2 separate regions of the Homo sapiens genome follow, and region 1 is linked to region 2. The links are contacts of gene promoters, found by promoter capture Hi-C in blood cells and fetal thymus (Javierre and others, 2016). All regions are on one chromosome and are shown on one strand. Each heading gives the region's core, a stretch centred on a gene start or on the middle of the fragment in contact. The rest is flanking DNA. Distances are from core to core; before and after follow the strand shown.

Region 1 (4,694 bases), core at 12-2,511, 530 kb before region 2:
TAGAAAAAAAAAAAAGGCTAAACACCAAAAAAAAGTACTGCAGGAAAAATAGGATTTTTAAAAACTATAAGGCATATAGAAATAATAAAGTAACAGAAATAAGCCCATTCTTACTTTAAATGTACATGATTAAACTCTCCAATCAAAAAAATAGATACTGACGGAATGGAAGAAAAAAACAAAAAAAGATTCAATTTTTCTGAAACAAAAGTGGTTTGCTGCTTGATGCACTAAAAGCCAATACTATGACACCAGGTTTTTGAGAAAAGAAAAGCTTTTTATTGCCAAGTTGACTCATAAGGAGACAGGAGTTGAGCTCAAGTCTTCCTCCCTGTGCTGGCTTTAAGGCAGTAATCTCATTAGAAAAGGTTTAGGGTGTTAATTCTGAAATTAGCAGGTGATTGATGAAAGGAAAGAGGAGGTCTGGAAAGTCCTTTGGTATGTGCAGTTATCTCTTCATACTACCTCATGCATTGCATATGCAAATTCAGGGGGAGTTAGTATAAAACATGCAGCGGAAATTAAGGCTGTGGTGACATCAGCAAGCTCATTATGTGCAAACTCTAGTTGGCCACTGATATGGTTTTGCTGTGTCCCTACCCAAATCTCATCTCGAATTGTAGCTCCCATAATTCCCATATGTTGCGGGAGGGACCCGGTGGGAGATAATTGAATTGTGGGGGTGGTTCTCCCATACTGTTCTTGTGGTAGTGAATAAGTCTCATGAGATCTGATGGTTTTATAATGGAGAAACCACTTTTGCTTGCTTGTGCCTTTCACCTTCCACCGTGACTGTGATGCCGCCCCAGCCATGTGGAACTGTGAGACTGAGAATGTGAGTCCATCAAACCTCTTTTTCTTTATAAATTACCCCATCTCAAGTACGTTTTTATGAGCAGCATGAAAATGGACTAATACAGCCGTCTTGGTTCCAACTGACTTCAGCAAATTTTTTCTTTATCTTACAGCGGAGAGAGTTTCAGCATTTCATCAAGTTGTTTATTTTCTTGTCTGCTATCCTGAAAACTCAATAATTTCTATTAATTACTAGTTTCTTACTTTCGGGGCACAGTTTTAGTAAGTTGTTTCTCTTCTTATCTGCCATGCAGTAAGCCCAAGAATTTATTAATTTTTTTAACCCCTTGAAGCATGGTTCACAACTATATACTTTCCTACAAGGAACTCACTTTAGATCTAAAGAGAGAAATAGATTAAAAGTGAAATGATAGAAAAGTAATTAAAAGAAGGCAGGAGTGGCTCCACTAACATCAGAAAAATAGACTTTAAATTTTTAAAAATAACAAGAAAAAAGGAGGACATATCAATAAAAGTTTTAATACCACAAGAAGATAAAACAATTATAAACATTCACACACTTAATCACAGACCATTAAAATATGTGAAGCAAAAATTGTCAAATGAGGGAGGAGTCCTGGGACATCTCACATATGTTCAGAATATGGAATTTAGTCGCATAGTTTTGGTATAAAACCACTCATCTTCTGTACATTATGTCTCCAAGTCTAGAAACCCTCCGCTTTACACTTTCTGGGAAGTAAACCTCAAATCTGCGGTATGGGAGAAGCATCCAGCATCAAGGAGTGGAGGAAGGATCCACACAGAAATAGCATATTTACAAGGATTGTTCTTGAAAATTATGAGGATCATAAATCACAAAATCAATGCAACCTGAATAAGCTATAAGTTTATTTCTCTTTCAAAAAATTGGAGTATTAAGGAAAAAGGGTGGAGATTATACAATGGCTCTATATTCATCAACCTGCCCCTTCTAGTGTGTTACTTCACACCCTTCAACAGGGGGATACTATCTTGTGATTAATTGCAAATATCACTCTGATATTTGCCAGCTCATCCTTACAAAGAGATAGAATTTACATATACTTCTCCATATTTTGAATCTAGTGTAGCCTTGAGAATTACATTGATTTCTTATAATGTGGTAACATTAATGTTTCCTCTTTTTATATTTGCAGATTTGATTTTCTGAAATTTTATTAAGAATTGTTGTAGCTATATTCATGAGAGATGGATATGTTTTCAAAGTAATGTTGGCCTCATGATGAGTTTAGATATGTTATTTCTAACATATCTCTGGGAGTGTTATATGGTATTTCTAATATAACTCTGGGAGAGTTAGAGTATAACTGGATTCTTCTAAAAATACACCACTGAATAGATTCAAAACATTAAATATTTAGTAATAAATCTGACTAATGTGTAAGCTTTGTACAGTTAAAAAAAAAGTCAGCAAAATAAAAAGACAAGCCACAGGCTGAAAGGAAATTTCTGCAAAGTCATATCTGATAAAGGACTGTTACCAAAATATACAAACAACTCTTAAAACTCAACAATATGAAAGCAAATAACTTAATATTAAAAATAGGCCACATAGCTTAACAGACACACAAAAAATAGCCAAATGTCAAATAAGCATATGAAAAGATGTTCTGCATCAAATGTCATCAGGGCAATGCAAACTAAAATAACACGATACTACCACACATCTATTAGAATGGCCAAAATCCAGAGCACTGGCAATGCAAAATACTGGTGAGGATATAGGGCAACAAGCATGTTCATTTAATTTTTATGGAAATGCAAAATGGCACGGCCACTTTGAAAGACAGGTTAGCCTTGTCTTACAAAACTAAATTCACTATTACAATATGACCCAGCCATCACACTGTGTAGTATTCACCCAAAAGAGTTGAAAACTTATATCCACGAAAAAACCTATGCCCTGATATCTGTAACACCTTTTTCATAATTACCAAAACAGAAGCAATCAAGATGCTCTTCAGTAGGTGAATGGATAAAGAAAGTGTAGCACATTTAGACAATAGAATATTATTCAACACTATACCCCAGATTGAGTTTTCTTTCCTAGGGCTTCGACTCAAAGCTTGGAATTGAGTTTGGGACAAAAGAACTGCTTCGGCGGGTTGTGTGGACACTTTACAAGCCAAATGCTAAGGTGAAGCTGTGGAACTGAGTCCTCCTCCAACAAGAGAGAGAAAAGGGTGTCTTGTGTACTGAGTCCTGGCCTAGTATAATGTCTTCTCAAAGGAAAAAAGGCCTCTGGCATAGAGAAGTCCCTTCTACTTGCAGGAGCGTGTTATTAGGTTGGTGCAAAAGCATTCATGGTCCCCATCATGCTAAGTAATGTCAAATAACACAACTACTTTTGCACCAACCCACCAACTCCTGACCTGGTGGAGAAAAGAAAAAATACAGCTTAAAGTGCAGGGATGTGTTAAGTGCTGATGGGGTGAAGAAAAGAAAATAAAACATCTTAAGTACAGAGTTGGAAAGATGCCTGGGGGAAGAATCTCCTATTCTTATGCAAATGTGTTCCTCCAACAGGGAGAGAAATTTTACTTGCTGTTGGACTGGAGAGAAACTTTTCGATGCTGCTGGGAATGCTGGCCAGCGTGCTGTGTGGAGCCCTTGGGCCAGGTGCCCCAGCCCCAGCTGGGTGGAGGTGGGCAGGGAGTCACCACTCACCTATCTGTCTTGCATGCATGCCTGTGACCATTGGGGTGGTGGTGGAACACCCCCAATATTGTAAAAGAAAAGATAGGTGCCATTACAATCCCCCCCAAAAGAAGGAAAATGCCATAGAAAAGACTGGGTTGGACTGAGGTTGACATTCGCAATCCCCAAGGCAACGGAAGTGGAGGGTCACAGTTTTCTCTACCTTCAGAAGATGTCTGAGGGCAAGAAAAAGCTGAGAAACAAAAGGGAAAGAGGTTTTGTGGGGGATTCTGCATTTGATTCACCCTTCCTCATGTCCCCATACAGGCCACCAAAATGATGTGGGATATTTTGCTCCTTAGTTTAGCTAAAATCCACGTTCTTGCCTCACAACCAGGAAAAATTAGGCACATGGACACTTTGAAGGGTGAGAAGGACAGATTTATTAGGCAAAAAGAAAACTCTCAGCCAAGAAAAACGGGGTCCTGCCAACAGGCTCACACCTCATTGAATACCAGGCCACCACACTCAAGCTGAAGAGGCCAGCCTTCTCCTAACTACATAAGGCACCAATTCCCAGTGGCTCCACTCATTCTCCCAGTGCCCAGGCAGGCCCTCAGTTTATGGCAGGCATGCCCAGACAAGACCCTGGGCAGGTTCCCTCATCTTCACAAAAGTATCTGATATAAACACTTATGGGGTGTGTCAGAGATTCAAGGAAGATAAGGGGACCCTCTTTTTGGTAGATCTTTTTGGTAGAAATTTAAAAATTTATCCAAAATATTACATACATATGCAAACAACCAAGATAGCCAAAATGATTTCAAAAAGAACAAAACTGAAGGCATCAAACCTCTTGATTTTACGAGAACTTAAAAAGCTACAATAATTAAGATAGTGTGAAATTTACATCAAGAAACACAAATAGACCAAAGGAAAAGACAGTCCACTAAAAAAGCAATTTAGTAAAAAAAAAAAAAAAAAGATAACCTTTCAACCAATAGTGCTGAACCAATTGAATATCCATTTGCAAAAAAACAGAAATGTATTCATACTTTCACTACATAAAACATAGCAAGAGTAGCAAGAGTGGCCTTTACTCCAGTTCCCAACAAGTTCCTCCTCTCCATCTGAGACCACCTCAGCCTAGATTTCATCATCCATATCATTATCAGCATTTTGGTAAAAGCCATTCAACA
Region 2 (4,412 bases), core at 506-3,005:
TGGAGGTGAGAGGTAGACATCCAGAGAACAGGGAAGAGCCCCAGAAAGTTGACCCAGAAAGTGGATCTGAGCTATTCCTGTTCGAATTTCACAAGTACCCTGGGTCACACTGTGGAGATGAGAGTCAGAGAGATTATGTGACATGCCAAAATCATTCAGCCTCTAAGTGGTGGAGCACAACTTTGCTTCAATCCCATAGGCTAGGAAGAGCATGCTTTGTCTACCAGGACAGAGTCCCCTGCTACCATCAATTGTCCCTTCATCTGTCTGAGATCCTTGCCTACTGTGTATCCCCTCAAGGCAAGACCACAGTCTACTCATCTTTATCTGTCTGGGTCCAACACGGTGTCTGGCACAGACAGAGCACCTCAGGAAACAAATCTCAGTCCATTTTCACCAAGGTCCCAGGAACAGGGCAAGGGCAGGCTCCACTCCGTGGAGAGAAGACATCTCAAGGAAGTAACTGGCTTTGTGAGGAGCAGAAACTAAGGTTCCAAGTTATCCTCAGCTCCCCAGCTTGGGTCTGGAATAGATGGAGGAGGGAGCTGACCAGTTTTGACACATGTATTCCTCACACGAAACCTGTAGGATTAAAATGATCATTTCTCACCATCAAATGCAAAACAGCTGAAGTGGAACACAAGAGCTGGAGTCAATAATACTGTATTGAATTTGGGATTTTTGCTGGAAGAGCAGATTTTGGGTGCTCTTACACATACACACACACACACACACACACATACAGAGAGACACACACACAAAAGGCTAATTATGTAAAATCATGGATGTGTTCATTTGCTTGATTATAGTAACCATTTCACTAAATACATGTATATCAAAACTTCATGTTACACCTTAAATATTACCATAAAATAAAAGAAGAAAGAAAAACAATTGAAGTGGGGCAGGTAAATTGCCTCTCTGAAGGCCACACAGCTAGTAAACAACAAAATCGAGTCATAAACCCACATCTCCAGGACTTTCTGCCATTTCGAAGAAAACACAAGTCCGCAGGAAGGGATTCTGAGGCAGAGAGAAGCACCTTTGGATTCTCCACTTCTCTGGATTATCCACACCACTGGCCTCCCTCCCCTATATGAAGGGCAAACTGGGAACTGACTTCATATTCTGGTTAACTTACCAGGAGAATTTTCTGGGGTAGAGGATCATTAGCTGGGACTGAAGACACCCTGGTCAGGGCCTACTGAGGCTGGGAAGCTCTGGTTACCACATGGAGACCCCTAGAGAGGACATCAGCCTCTCTGGACCTTAGTCAGGTGGGATCCCCAAATGCTGTGAGGGCAGCCCCCTAGGGTGGGCTTAACCCACTCAAGGGAAGCCTCAGCCACCCCCACTCTCTCCTAAGGAGGCTGGATCTGACATCTTGGGCCCCCCTTCTGTTTCCAGGTGGAAGGAGAGCCTTCTGGGCACAGCCCTCCTGCCAGGGCCCTCTCCAGAAACCTCTCACAGTCTTCCCCAGGACCCCAGATGCAATCAGAGATGGGAGCCCAGGGACAAGCGAGATGGGAAGGGGAGAGGCAGGAAAAGGATGCCAGTCAGGACAGTGCCAACTCCAGAGCTGCTGTCCAGGACCTACCTGCAGGGAAGGCGGGCACCAGCCAGCCCCAGCCAGCCTTTGTTGACTTAACAGGTGGCTCTGAGGTGGGAGAAGAGGAGGAGGAGAACACACCACTGGAAGACTGGTTCCCATTGGTCCCTGTCATGCTTAAAAAAAGGCCCAGAGAGGCAGTCTTGACACCCTAGATCCCAAGATCTCCAAGGATTTGGTGGCATACCCACTCCAGCACACAGAAGCATGAGGTTCATGACTCTCCTCTTCCTGACAGCTCTGGCAGGAGCCCTGGTCTGTGCCTGTGAGTATGGCTCTTCCCCGACACCCAACCATATAGTCCCCTGAAGACTGGGCCCTGCCTTCATTTCCCCTTCCCCTCCTCGCCAGAGGCAGTTCACCCAAGTCTGTCTCTGTAGCCCACTCCTGCCTCCCACTAGGTTCTCCACACAGGGACTCTATGGTCAGAGGAAGCCAGGAGCCCTGTGGCCCCAGCCTGGCTCTCCATTGCCTCTCCTCTCAGTCTGTGATTGGCCCACTCTGCTCCAACCACTCTGGCATTCTTTTTCCCCTCAATGAACCAAGCCATTTCCCACTGCCAAGACTTTTGCACATCCTCTTGTCTTTTCCCCTGCCCATTATTTCACCCACCCACGTCAACCTCCTTCCTACTCAATTTCCAAGTGTCCGCCCTGCTAGCTCTCTGTGTCCATGTATTTCCTCACAGCAGGCTTGCTGAAGCCCCAGAATCATTTTGGCCCCTATTTTGCATTTTCTTGCCTCCTGTATTTTTCCTTCCTAGCACTATCACAAATGTAATTAAATAATTGTTTATGTAATTATGTTAATTCCTCCAAATCCCCCATTGACTGTCAGCTTCCCCGAGCAATTACACTGTCTGTCTTCCTCACAGCTGTATCTCTAGCCTCTAACACCATGTCTGGTGCATAATGCGTGCTTCATTCATGCTTTTGGAAGAATAAAGAAATGGAGGGAAGGTCCTTCTGAGGTCATTCTATCAGGTGACAATCAGAACAACTCCTGCCCTGTCACTAGAGCAGGTGCTGTGGTCATGCCCTCGTGGTCATGCCCCTTCAACTTTCATTATGAAACTTGGACATCTAAGACATAGAAGAGAGTCAGAGAATGATTCCATTTCCATAGGGATGTTCTGAGTAGCCTAGGTCTAGGGAGGATAACAGAGAGAGGGATTTGGTTGAGATACCAAAAAGCATTTCTAGTGGGCCCCTTGTGAAGCAGAGATTTCTCTCCTGTCTGTCCACTGCCACACTCCTGAGATTAGAGGCCTGGGAATTCTAGGCAGCCCTGGCTGGATACAGCTCATGCAACTGTGCCCTACTTGACATGGTCACTGTTCCCTCCTTTGCAGATGATCCAGAGGCCGCCTCTGCCCCAGGATCGGGGAACCGTGAGTCCTTTCTCTTCCTCCTGCCCCAGTCCTGGGTGGGAGGGTTAATGACTTGGGATATGAGTGGAGGAAGTCAGAGAAGCAGAAGGGGGGTCCGGGGAAGGAGAGTTGGGAGGCCGACTTTTAGGAGACATGGAGAAGGGAGACTTCCTGAGAGACTCATGCACTGGAGAAGGACAGAGCATGGGGGAAAGGGTGGCCCTGTCTGGAAGTAGAAGTGGAGTAAGAAAAATGGGAAAGAAAAGAATACTTTTCTTGAGCAAGAGGAGGAACTTCACATTAGATGGGTTCAGAGGTTTTCATCTGCCCCACCTTCACCAACAATTTCAATTCAAAAACCTTTCACGTGGTTTCCCATTTCTCATCACGAAACTCTCACCTCCTAGCCTGACATTCAGGGTATCCATGATCTAGATCCAGGGTACTTTTCAAATATAATTTCCCTAGACTCCACTGCTTGCATTCTCCACATCAAACGTTATACATTTGTTTCATCAGACAGCATGAGTAACTTTCTACTACCCAACGTTCCTCTTCCTGGGTACCTTTTCAACCCCTACCTGTCCGTGCTCTAACAAGCTTCAAGTCCCAGCTGCTCTCTGAAGCCCTCCCTGCCTGGTGTGTATGGTGCCTCTGTCCCAGTCTCTCCTTTCATCCCTCCCTCTTCTGGGCTTCCCATATATAGCAGTTTTGTCTCTTTTCCTAGACTGTAAGCCCCTGAGAGAGAGATCTAATTCTCATTCATTTCTACTTCCCCAGCCATGTACACACTCTGGATAATTAACGGCAGAAAGATAAACTGTATTTCTGCACATCTTCACTGCACTGCGAGCCCCAACCACAGCACACACCTGCACCCTCCCTGCCTTCTCACATAAAGCCCAGAGGGAACACCGGGCACCTTGGTGTCTTCTCAGATGCCCCTGGAGCGTTTCACACCAATGCAATAACAGAAGTTTTGATTTTCCAGATAAACAAATGGATTGTTTACAGCTACAGAAGCCCCCTTCAGAGACTGCCAAATTTCTGTCCTCATCCACCAACCTGCCTAGAAGAGAGAAGCTAGTGCCCTCTGCAAAACCTCCCCACACTAGGGGGCTGGTATAAGGGATGAAAACTAGGGGGAGTCTCTTTAAGGTGATCTTTCTGCCAAAATGACTTTACTTTTCCCTGAACCATAATCTACTCTAGAAAAGGGCCCTGGAGGAGCAGGAAAAGTCTTGGAGGCAGCAGGAAAAAGCTTGAGGGATGCTAAAGAACCTAACACATCATGAAAGTCAAGCTCTAGAGGAATTGGGAGAGAGGGAGCTATCCTCAAGCCAGACCTTGAGGGGGTAAAAGCACCACCTGCTCCCCGACCAGGGTGGAAAGAGTGAAATAGCTATTATTCCTCTCACTCCCTTACCCTTGCAG

What was found. The method cuts DNA at HindIII sites, captures the fragments that hold promoters and counts their contacts. A CHiCAGO score of 5 or more calls a contact.
Region 1: a fragment that was not itself captured here is called in contact with the fragment with the promoter of DCD in region 2 in 1 of 17 cell types (activated CD4 T cells); the score reaches 5.9 in activated CD4 T cells.

Annotation. Positions count from the first base shown.
Region 1 is chr12:55,172,299-55,176,992 of GRCh38, reverse strand. No RefSeq gene overlaps it. Among named protein-coding and RNA genes, the nearest start is that of OR10A7, 46 kb to the left of the region's middle. RefSeq lists enhancers at 3,753-4,514, 3,633-4,694. The HindIII fragment of the contact is 1,969 bases long and covers 277-2,245 here.
Region 2 is chr12:54,645,708-54,650,119 of GRCh38, reverse strand. DCD (dermcidin) reads left to right here and starts at 1,755. Exons shown (of 5, transcript NM_053283.4): 1 at 1,755-1,874; 2 at 2,961-2,999. The coding sequence starts at 1,817. The HindIII fragment of the contact is 3,742 bases long and covers 1-3,580 here.